Regions from separate parts of the Homo sapiens genome. Here all the other regions are linked to region 1. Evidence: promoter capture Hi-C in 16 types of primary human blood cells and fetal thymus (Javierre and others, 2016). All regions are on one chromosome and are shown on one strand. The core of a region is centred on a gene start or on the middle of the fragment in contact, and the rest is flanking DNA. Distances in the headings are between cores, read along the strand shown. Region 1 holds the start of TMEM87B (transmembrane protein 87B). Region 2 has its middle 4.5 kb from the start of TTL. Region 3 has its middle 19 kb from the start of RGPD8.

Evidence for each region. Contacts are between HindIII fragments. The CHiCAGO score rates a contact against its expected background, and 5 or more counts as called.
Region 2: a contact is called between a fragment that was not itself captured here and the fragment with the promoter of TMEM87B in region 1, in 7 of 17 cell types (non-activated CD4 T cells, fetal thymus, naive CD8 T cells and 4 more). The highest score is 7.8, in non-activated CD4 T cells.
Region 3: a fragment that was not itself captured here is called in contact with the fragment with the promoter of TMEM87B in region 1 in 1 of 17 cell types (M1 macrophages); the score reaches 5.0 in M1 macrophages.

The regions. Positions count from the first base shown.
Region 1 is chr2:112,053,322-112,057,197 of GRCh38, reverse strand. TMEM87B (transmembrane protein 87B) reads right to left here and starts at 1,929. Exons shown (of 19, transcript NM_032824.3): 1 at 1,442-1,929. The coding sequence starts at 1,606. RefSeq lists enhancers at 788-1,127, 1,158-1,227 and silencers at 1,958-2,687, 2,888-2,937. The HindIII fragment of the contact is 6,387 bases long and covers 1-3,876 here.
Region 2 is chr2:112,475,736-112,479,611 of GRCh38, reverse strand. No RefSeq gene overlaps it. Among named protein-coding and RNA genes, the nearest start is that of TTL, 4.5 kb to the left of the region's middle. The HindIII fragment of the contact is 2,753 bases long and covers 624-3,376 here.
Region 3 is chr2:112,450,876-112,454,751 of GRCh38, reverse strand. No RefSeq gene overlaps it. Among named protein-coding and RNA genes, the nearest start is that of RGPD8, 19 kb to the right of the region's middle. The HindIII fragment of the contact is 1,664 bases long and covers 1,373-3,036 here.

The DNA of each region.
Region 1 (3,876 bases), core at 680-3,179:
AATGTGGAAAATATAAGTCCACTCTTGGGAGAGAAGGGCTTTTAGACTTCTGGCGGCCCAGGGTCACACAGGAGTAAAATTAGCCTAAAGGTCATGCAGCACTCAAGGAGCAAACTTCTCTTCCTCATGCAGGAAGAAGTACACTTGGCAAAGATCTTTGCAGGTATGTTCACAGTACACTTAGCAAAGATCTATACAGATATGTTCAAGTAATCCAACAATATGCATGCAACTGATTCACTTCCAATATAGTTATATTGACTATTCACTATCGTAGCAGCAGGAAGCCATGAGAGTAGTTCACTGAGTTCTACTTTTTCCCGTTCAGGAAATTAAATAATGGAGATGTGCAGACTATAACTGGCACACAAATTAGGTCACCAACCCAGAAGAATCCAATCCTGGAGGAAATGGCTGCACTAGGTCTTAAAAGATCCAGAAAGATACCCAGCGTGTTCCTCTGAGTAGCTTTTGTGTTGTGGGAAGTATTTGTAGTCTTTGGAACTACTTTCTTTTTCTGGTTAAGGAAATCAAAATATAAGTCTCATCTTTAGAACCTGGACATTATTTCATGCATGTGGAAAATACCCATCCCAAACAGTGCTGGATGAGTCATCTGACCCCAGAGAAGCCGGAGATAATGCCTCTTCCAGACTTCCTGTCTCTCTTTTGCAAGACTTTCCATAATTCTGCCCCTGCATCTCTCCCACATCATCTCCTCTAATTACCAGACGCCAAGTTTTCTAATAGCCTGCCTTGGAAAGAAGAGTTTCCACCCACTCATGCCTCCAGATTCGCCTTTCAAGCACTCCCTAATCACAAGTCCCGCCCCACCTACACACACACTCTCTCTCCCGGAACTGTGACAGGAACTGTAGAGAAATTCAGGAACTCAAGAAGAGAGAAATAGAGGTAGGGTGACTACTGCACGTTTCCCCCTCATTTAAATTTTTTCTTTCTTTTTTTTTTTTAAGGAAGCGGCAGACCCGCTTTCTAAGTTTATGCAGAAACTGAAGCGCTGGCAAGTCCTCCCTGCGGCCTCAGGGGTGTGGCCCACTGTGGCTGCATCCGGACAGGAAGAGTCGAATCCCAAAGATGCTGCTAGATGTGCCGAGAGATTCCTGATCCAGCCAAAACATGTCAGAGCAGAATGAGGGCCACGGCGTCGGGCATGGTGACCCTCAGTAACAGTCCGAGCGCTCGGACCCGAGGGCCGTCCCATGCGCAATCCTGACGGCTCTTGCCTGCAGCCCAGGTCGGGCCGGAGGAGGGGCCGCTCCCCGCTCCCCGGCTGTAACAGACAAAAGGCTCAGGGAGGGTATCAGGGGACCCGGTGCTGACCCGGCAGAGGCAGGGTGAACAAGCCCGGGGTCAAGCGAAGCCGCACGACGGCCCTGACGGCCCGAGACGTGCCACGCCTGGGTCCCGACACTCCACTTACGTCGTTGACTGTCTCTAACCAGAGCCCGAGCTCAGGGACCGCGCGCACAGCCGCCGGGGTCCAGCACAGGAGGCAGAGGGCGACGCGCAGCAGCGGGGCCCGGGCGGGAAAGCAGCGGCGGCGGCGTGGCAGGAGCCCGGCTACCGAGCGGCAGGCGGCGACCATCTTGACCAGGAAGCTGCACCTGGCGCTCCGAGACGCCTGCCACACCCGCACCTGGTGCAGCACCGCCCCAGGCAGGCGGGTCCGAATCCGGGACGCGGGGCTCGGACTCGGGTGTGGAGGAGGGGCTCGCGCTTGGGCCTGGGCGGAGAGGCGCCGTGCAGTTCTGGGAAACCCGGCCAGGACCGGGAGGCAGGGCTTAGGGCTCTGAGCCGGGCCCGAGCGTGCAGCTGGGAGATGCCTGGAAGGCAGAGATAGGAGCCAGGATGTGGAGTTGGCGGCGAGACGTGGAGGCTGGGCTCAGGGCCTAGCGTGGGCGTGAAGATAGAAGAGGAGCCGGAACGTGCAAGGGAGGGCTGGCAGCCCGAGCGCGGAGGCGGGGCCGGGTAGGGAGGCGCCGCCGGAGTGTGGAGACGAGGCGGGGCTCGGGAGTGTGGGGGCGGGGTGGGAGGCGTGGCTCGGGGCCAAGCTGGGTGTGGGGACAGGGCAGGGTTGGAGGCGGGCTCGGGACTGTGGAGGCGGGGCGGGGCTCGGGACCAGGGCGGAGTGCGGAGGCAGGGTGCCCCAGGAAGGAAGAGCTTGGGGCCAGGCCGAGCGTGGAGGCGGGGCCGTGTGGAGGCGGGGCCGTGTGGAGGCGGGGCCGTGTGGAGGCGGGGCCGTGTGGAGGCGGGGCCGTGTGGAGGCGGGGCCGTGTGGAGGCGGGGCCGTGTGGAGGCGGGGCCGTGTGGAGGCGGGGCCGTGTGGAGGCGGGGCCGTGTGGAGGCGGGGCGGGGCTCGGGACCAGGCCGGAGTGCGGAGACAGAGTGCCCCAGGAAGGAAGAGCTTGGGGCCAGGCCGAGCGTGGAGGCGGGGCCGCGTGGAGGCGGGGCCGTGTGGTGGCGGGGCCGTGTGGAGGCGGGGCGGGGCTCGGGACCAGGCCGGAGTGCGGAGACAGAGTGCCCCAGGAAGGAAGAGCTTGGGGCCAGGCCGAGCGTGGAGGCGGGGCCGCGTGGAGGCGGGGCCGCGTGGAGGCGGGGCCGGGATTTGGAGGCAAGACCCGGCGGGGAGGCGGAGCCTGAGCGTAAAGGCGGGGCTGGTCAGGGAGATGGGGTCGGAGTGGGGAGGCGGAGTTGAGGACCAGGCAGTAGTGTGGAGACGGGGCTGGACGAGAAGGGCTTGGGGTTAGGCCGTAGTGGGGAGGCCAGGTTGGGCGAGGAAGCAGGGCTTGGAGCAAGCCCTAGTACGGAGACGGGACTGGGCGGGGAGGCGTGGCCTGAGTGAGGAGACGGGCCTGAGTGGGGAGGCGGGGCCTGAGTGGGGAGGCGGGGCCTGTCTGGGAGATGAGGCGCAGTGGGGAGGCGGGGCTCGCCGCCAGCGAGCGCGAGTGTCAAGGTCCTGGAGTCGAATGCCTAGTAAGTGCTACGGTTGGAGTGCAGTCTAGAGTTCTGTTCCCAGGGTGTCTCCATTTCTTGCGTCTTCTACACTTACCCCTGCCTCGACCCTCTCAGCTGTATGGAAACCGTTCTTTAAATTCAGGGAATGTGCCAGGAAAGTGCTTTGAGGCCAAGGCCAGTTGAACACAAGGCATTGTGTTGTGAAGGTTAACGTTAATAGGACAGTTAATACTTTTCAGAACAAGTAGTTACTTGACTGGCTTAAAGCTCAGAGGGGTCAGGGCTTGGATCCGTCTTATTGTGTACCTTCCCTTGCATTTTCGGCTGTAAGCTGAATACATGTTTTGCTGTCAAAGAGAATTAGTTCATTCATTATCAAATGTAAATAATATCCAGCAAGGGAATAGAATCCTGTGCTAATATTGTTATTAACGTAGAATAAGATCGATTTATAGTCCAAAGGCCTTGGCTGCTTTACCAGTCACCAGTAATTATTGAGGACCTACTATACACTAGAGATTGCATGTGCATCTTCCCAGTAAGCAACGTGATCAGTTCTGTTTAGGTCAGAATAACTGTAACAGGACCACAGGGGAACATCCACCAGAGATTTAGGAAGTAAGTGAGGGACAGAAGGAGAGAACAATACATGAAATTTAAGTTCTACAAGAAGAGTTAAGGGCGAGTTACCTGTGGGAGTGAGGGGTAAGTCTGAAATCGTTTTAGTTACGAGAGAACTGGAGGAATGGAAAGATCTTCCAGATGACTGGATGTTGGTGTGAGACGGAGAGTGGCAAAGCTGGGAATATTTAAACAGTACCAAAACATACAGGCATTCCTAAATTAAGTTAGGCAGATGGCACCTTTAGTTAAGAACACTGGAGAGGCAATGATTTTTTG
Region 2 (3,876 bases), core at 751-3,250, 420 kb before region 1:
ACTGGCAGTACCCTGGATTATAAAGTAAACTCCAGCAATTTCAAAAGATTGAAATAATTCTGAACACTTTTCTGACAATAGTGGAATTAAGTTGCATGGAGATTAAGTGATATTGTACACTGCTAAATAACCCATGAATCCGTGAAGAAATCACAATATGAGAAAGTATTTTCTAACTGAATGAGAATAAAGATATGGCATAGCAAAACTGGTAGGATACAGCTAAAGCTGTTTTTAATAAAAAAATTACAGTCTAAAGTACATATGTGTTTTTTTTTGTTTTGTTTTGTTTTTGAGACGGAGTCTGGCTCTGTGGCCCAGGCTGGAGTGCAGTGGTGTGATCTCGGCTCACTGCAAGCTCTGCCTCCCGGGTTCACGCCATTCTCCTGCCTCAGCCTCCCGAGTAGCTGGGACTACAGGCGCCCGCCACTACGCCCGACTAATTTTTTGTATTCTTTTTTTTTTTTTTTTTTTTAGTAGAGACGGGGTTTCACCGTGTTAGCCACGATGGTCTCGATCTCCTGACCTCGTGATCCGCCCGCCTCGGCCTCCCAAAGTGCTGGGATTACAGGCGTGGGCCAAGTACGTATGTTTTTAAAAGAAGACTGAAAATCAATTAAGCTTCCATCTCATGAAACTAGAAAAAGAATAATAAGCAAAACCCAAAGTAAGTAAAAGGAAATAAATCCTAAGGGAAGAAATCAAGGAAGTAGAAAATAAATGTACAATAAAGAAATCAAAGGCAAAGGGGATATATTTTAAAAAATTTAAAATTGTTAAGCATTCAAGACCAACAAATGAAAGGAAGAACAATCAAAGTTAAAATGAAAAAGGTCAGATGCAAGAAGATTTAAAAATATTTTTAAACAAATTTTTTAATGAAAAAAGAAACATCACTAGAGATCCTGAAGGTATTAAAAACAATAAGATCCGGCCAGGCGCGGTGGCTCACGCCTGTCATCCCAGCACTTTGGGAGGCCGAGGCGGGTGGATCACCAGAGGTCGGGAGTTTGAGATCGGCTTGACCAACATGGAGAAACCCTGCCTCTACTAAAAATACAAAAAATCAGCTGGGCGTGGTGGCGCACGCCTGTAATCCCAGCTACTCGGGAGGCTGAGGCAGGAGACGGTCTTGAACCCGGGAGGCGGAGGTTGCCGTGAGCCAAGATCGCGCCACTGCACTCCAGCCTGAGCAACAAGAGCGAAACTCCGTCTCAAAAAAAGAAAGAAAGAAAGAAGATCCTATGATCAATTTTTGCAAATGAATTTGACGTGTGGACAAAATAGACTACTTCCTTGAAAAATCCAGTTTACCAAAAATGACACAGAAATACAAAATCTGAATAATTTCACACCTATTAAAGAGATTGATTCTATTCGCAGATAACATATATGTAGAAAATTCTACCAAAAAAACCCTTAAGGACTACCCACACATACATACCCACGAAATGTTAGAATTAATAAACAAATTAGAATTAATAGAATTAATAAACAAATTCAGCAAACTTTTGGAACAGCCCAAAATAATCCAAGAAAAAATTAAGAAAACAATTTCATTTATAGTACCATCAAATAACCCGTTTATTAAGGGAAAATTTGAAAAAAATAAAACTGTCACTTTTCCCATATGATATGGTTCTATACATAGTGGATCCTGAAGAACCTATACTAATTGAATGAATAACTGAACATTGTAAAGTCACTAGATACAAGGTATATATACAGATATAAATTGTATTTCTGTATGTCAACAACAAAGAAATAGAAAAAAAATTTTTAAAAGATACGATTTACAGTAGCATCAATATAAATGTGAAATAATTAGGAGTATCTAATGAAAGCTGTGCATTGCCTCTACACTGAAAATTACAAAGCATAATCGAGAGAAAATTTAAAAGCATAAAATAAATGAAAGGATGTACCATGTTCATGACTGAAAGACTCAAAATTGTTAAGGTGTCAAATTGATCTATAGATTCAATACAATCCCAAACAAAATCTCTGCAGAGCCATTCATGGAAATTGACAAGGTAATTCAAAAATTTATATAGAAATGCAAGGGACTGGCTGGGCGCGGTGGCTCATGCCTGTAATCCCAGCACTTTGAGAGGCCGAGGCGGGCAAATTGCCCGAGGTTAGGAGTTCGAGACCAGTCTAGGCAACATGGTGAAACCCCAGTTCTACTAAAAGTACAAAAAAATTAGCCGGCCATATGTTTTTTAAAAAAGACTGAAAATCTTTTTAAAGATTTTCATGGTGGCATGATTTTTAAGATTTTTAAGATTTTAAGATTCCATGGTGGCATGCACCTGTAATCCCAGCTACTCGGGAGGCTGAGGCAGGAGAATTACTTGAACTGGGGAGGTAGAGGTTGCAATGAGCTGAAGATTGCGCCATTGCACTCCAGCCTGGGCGACAGAGTGAGACTCCAACTCAAAAAGAAAAAAAAGAAAAAAGAAAAAGAAACTCTGACTCAAAAAGAAAAAAAAAAAAGAATAGCAAAGGTAATCTTTAAGAAAGTTGGAGGATTTACACTACCAGGTATCAAGACCTGACTATCAAAGTTATAGTATGTAAGTACAAAGCTGTAGCAATTAAGGAAGCATGGTTTTAGCATAAGAAGGGAAAAATTAACCAATGTAATAAACAGACCAATGTAACCCATGTAGGGAAAACCCATTTTAAGTTGTTTGGGGGTCTAAGTATAGGACACAAAGAAAAGACATGAAGGGAGGAGTAGTTCAGGATTTTGAGGCTTGCTTTTTAGGAGCACCACTCTTAAGCCCACGTAAGAAAACTTTAGAGGCTCTCACTCCGGCCCTGCTCTAGCCACATTCTTCCCTACAGATGAGACGTTTGTGAGGTCAAGGAGTTAATGGCCACCAGGAGACTGTCACCCTCCCAGTTTCTAGGATGTGCCAGATATCCGGGAACCAGAATTCACTGTCCAGAGATCAAAGCCTATTTCCTGGCCCTGCTCAGGCTTCCTCCCCGGGCCCATGTCCCAAGGGTCAGTGGCACTGCTGGTGTAGGCACCCATAGGCCTGGGCAGTGGCCAAGGGGCGGCTGTTTGTGGGTGAGGAGGAATGGATGCTCAGCTGTGAAGAGCAGTGTCCTCGCTTGAGTTCCTCAAAAAGGTGGCCCTGGAACTCACAATTGCATTGTATGTATGTTATAAACAACCTGATTTATATCAAAGGTGACATTGCAGATGAGTAGGGGCAGAGATGGGCTTACAGATGGAGCTGGGTCAAGGATATCCATATGGAAAACTAAATAAACCTTGACTCCTATCACATGCTATACTCAAAAATCAATTGCAAATGCGTTATGATGGAATACATTTAAAAGTGGAAGGTAAAGCAATAAAGCTTGCTGGGTGGGCAAAGTGACCCATGCCTATAATCCCAGCACTTTGGGAGGTCAGGTGTTAGGATCGCTTAAGCCCAAAAGTTCAAGGCTACAGTGAATTCTGATCGTGCCACTGCACTCCAGCCTGGGCGACAGAGCAAGACCTCATCTTAAAAAAAAAGGACTTTTAGAAGAAAACAGGAGAAAATCTTTATGATCTTACACTAGGTAAATATTTCTTAAGAGGACGCAAAAATCTCTATGAATAAAGTAAAAAAATATGAATGGTCAGTCTTAAAATTAACAAGTCTCATTCATCAAAAGACACCATCAAGAGAATAAATAGGAAAGCCATAGAATAGGATATATGTGTGTGTGTGTGTGTGTGTGTGTGTGTGTGTGTGTGTGTATGTACATACCTATATGTATGACAAAGGACTCATATCTGGGATATAAAAGGGATTACAAATTAAGAATTAAAAACTGGTAAGCCAATGAACAAAAGAACTGAGTTGAATATTC
Region 3 (3,876 bases), core at 955-3,454, 400 kb before region 1:
AGCATGTTCTCTCCCTGAGGCTAGTGCTCTTTCTCTACCCACATCCCTTCACCAGGTCAGTGCATCCATGCCCAGCTGCTGTGAGGCTTACCTGCTGATAATCATAGGTGCACCCCTTTTCTAAAGGATTGGCTGGATGTTTTGCTCACATCTATAATCCCAGCACTGTGAGAGGCTGTGGCAGGAGAATTGCTTGAGCCCAGGAGTTCAAGATCAGCCTGGCTACAAGGTCATTAACTAGAGTGGAATTTCAAAGCCTGATCTACCTCAGGATATGCTTGCCCTGCTGAGGGAGGGAGATGTTATATGTAAAGGAGCAGCAGGGCCTGAATAACAGGGATTAAGAGAACTGGTAGTGTGTACCTAGGAATAGATCTTAATGGCTAGGAGTCAAGGTTGGGTAGAAGGTGAGGCTGCATAAGGAAGCTGTTCATATTAGGTGTCAACTTGATTGGATTGAAGGACACCTAGATAGCTGGCATTGTTTCTGGGTGTGTCTGTGAGGGTATTGCCAGAGGAGACTGACATTTGAGTTGTTGGTTTGGGAGAGGAAGACCCACCCTCAGTGTGGGTGGGCACCATCCAATCTAGCTGCCAGGCTAGAATGAAGAAGGCAGAAAATAGGATAAGTTTGCTTGTTGAGTCTTCTGGCTTTCTTTCTTCTTCCCATGCCGGCCACTGGCTTCCACTCTTCCTGCCCTTGGACCTCAGACTCCAGTGGCTTCCTGAGAGCTCTTAGGCCTTTGGCCTCAGACTGAAGCTGCATTGTTGGCTTCCCTGGTTTTGAGGCCTTCTGACTTGGACTGAGCCACTACTGATTCTCTCTTTCCCCAGCTTGCAGACAGTCACCTTGTAATCATGTGAGGCAGTTTTCCCTAATAAACTCCTGTAGATAGATAGATAGATAGAGATATAGATATAGGAGAGAGATATATATACACACACATACATATATGTGATATATGATATATCACATATATCATATAGGATATATCTATATATCCTATACATCCTATACATCTATATATCCTATACATCCTATATATCCTATACAAATATATAGGATATATCTATGTATCCTAGGATATATAGATATATAGATACATATATATAGATATATAGATATATCCTAGGATACATAGATATATATCTATGTATCTATATATCCTATACATCCTATTTGATAGGATGTATAGGATATATATAGGATATATCCGTATATCCTATACATCCTATTTGTTCTCCCCCTCTGGAGAACTCCAATACAGAAGCCTTCTCAAGGTGGGGGCATCTTTTACATAACACAAGATTTAACACCTGCAATGAGCCCCACAAGAAAGCTCTAATATACCGCTGCAAAGCTTCAGAAGCTTGGAAAAATCAATGGCCCACATTAAATGAAGCAGAGATGCCAGAACTATGGACAAAGAGTTCAAAAAGACACTCCATTTATCAGAGCTAAGAAGGCACTGGTGGGAGGGCAGCAGCATCAATGAGAGGCACGGTAGCAAATGTCTTCTGAAGGTCAAGAAGAATGGTGGGGATGCTGTTACAGAACTGGACTTCCTGTTAGCAATGGGGAGCATAGGATCCCAGCACAGTAAGGGCCATATGACAGCTCCTAAATGTCAGGAGGAAGGTGAGCATCATTACTGTACTAGACAGCAAGGTTGGAATCACAGTCAGAAAGATGTCTCTTGTTTATGTAAACTTGTCTGGTAATATCAACATGATAATTTATTTAATAAGCTATCATTTTCTCATTAAATTGAAATACTGTGCCATTGTCTTACATTAAATTCTGAAATGTGCTTGATTTATCTCTGGATTCTGTAGTCTGAATATCCTTGGGTCAGTTCAATAGTGGGCTGATTGTAGTGTTTTTTTTAGGAGATTCAACTACCTAAAAATGATTAAGTATAGGAACTTACATAAGATAGGTTTATTTCTCTGAAAATCCAAAGCTGGCAGGATGTCCAAGTGATGTAGGCTGCTGCAACCTATGAGTTAATTCAAGGAGCCAAATTCTTTTTTGTTTTCGTAGCCATCCCTTAGGGTGTTACCTGCATAGTCTCACTATACCTATGTTCCAGCCCATGGTATGAGAGAAAAATGGGGGAGAGAAACAAAATCCTTTTTAAGGGCATAACCCCAAAGTCACATGACTTTATTCCATATGTGTGCCTTTAGTCAGAATGTAGTCACACTACCAATCTAGCTAAAAAGGAGTCCAGAGAACGTAATCTCTGACAGGTTGGCCTATTCTTAGATAAAACTAATGGGAAGAAGAGAAATGGACACAGGAAGTTGGTAATGAGCCTTCAAGATGGCCCCCAATAATCCCTGACACCTAGTATTTACAATCTTGTGTAGTCCCCTCCCATGTTACACTAAGTTTAATCTGTGTGTCCAACATCATAGGCAAGAGTGATAGCATGTCACGTCTGAGAATAGATTACAAAAAGACGACAGCCAGTCTTGAGATCTCTCTCTGACCACTTGCTCTGGGGGAAGCCAGTTGCTATGTTGTGAGGTAGCCCTGTGGAGAAACCTATATGGAAAGAACTGAGTGTCTGGCCTCCCAACAACCATACAGTGAGCTTGGAAGTGGATTCTCCAGCCTCAGTCAGGCCTTGAGATGTTGCAGCTCAGGCGGATAGCTTGACTACACCCTCGTGAGACACTCTGAGCCAGAACCACCCAGCTAAGCTGCAGGTGGATTCCTGATCCTCAGAAACTGAGGTAATAAATGCTTGTTATTTTAAGCTGCTATGTTTGAGGGTAATTATTACACACTCTGTTGCTGCATAACGAATTGCTCCAGAGCTTAGTGGCTTAAAACCCCTACGTTTATTAGCTCATAGATTCTTTGAGTCAGGAATCTGGACATAACGTAGCTGGATCCTTGGGCTCTGGTTGCAGTCAAGGTGTCAGCAGGGCTGCAGTTACCTTCAGGCTTGATTAGGGATAGATCAGCTTCCAAGCACTCTCACATGGTTGTTGGCCAGTTTCTACATGGGTTATTAGACTAAAGCTTCAATTCCTCAAAAGCTGTTGGCTGGAAGCCTCTCTTGGTTCCTTACTACATAGGCTTTTCCATTGGGCAGTTTACAACATGCCTGCTGGCCTCACTACAGTGAGCAAGAAAGAGGGTAAGAGATGGTAAGCAAGAAAAAAGCCACAGTCTTTTGTAACTTAATCTTTGAAGTAATATTGTCAGAGGTGTTTGAACCAGAGCGACTCCATATTGAATAGGGGCTGGGTAAAATTAGGCTGAGACCTATTGGGGTGCATTCCCAGGAGGTTAGGCATTCTTAGTCATAGGATGACATAGGAGATCAGCACAAAGTACAAAGACCTTGCTGATAAAACAGTTTGCAGTAAAGAAGCCAGCCAAAACCTACCAAACCCAAGATGGCAATGAAAGTGACCTCTGGTCATTCTCACTGCTCGTTATCCACGAATTATAATGCGTTAGCATGCTAGAAGACATTCCCATCAGTGCCATGACAGTTTACAAATGCCTTAGCAATGTCTGGAAGTTACCCTGCATGGTCTAAAAAGGGGAGGAAACCTCAGTTCTGGGAATTGTCCTCCCCTTTCCTGGAAAACTCATGAATAATCCACCCCTTGTTTAGCATATAATCAAGAAAGAACCGTAAGTGTTCTTAGTCGAGCAGCCCACACCACTGCTCTGCCTATGGAGTAGCCATTCTTTTATTCCTTTACTTTCTTAATAAGCTTGCTGTCACTTTACTCTATGAATTCACTTTGAACTCTTTTTTTGTGTGAGATCCAAGAACCTTCTCTTGGGGTCTGGATCGGGACCCCTTTCCAGTAATAATATTCCATCACTTTTTCCATATTCTATTCATG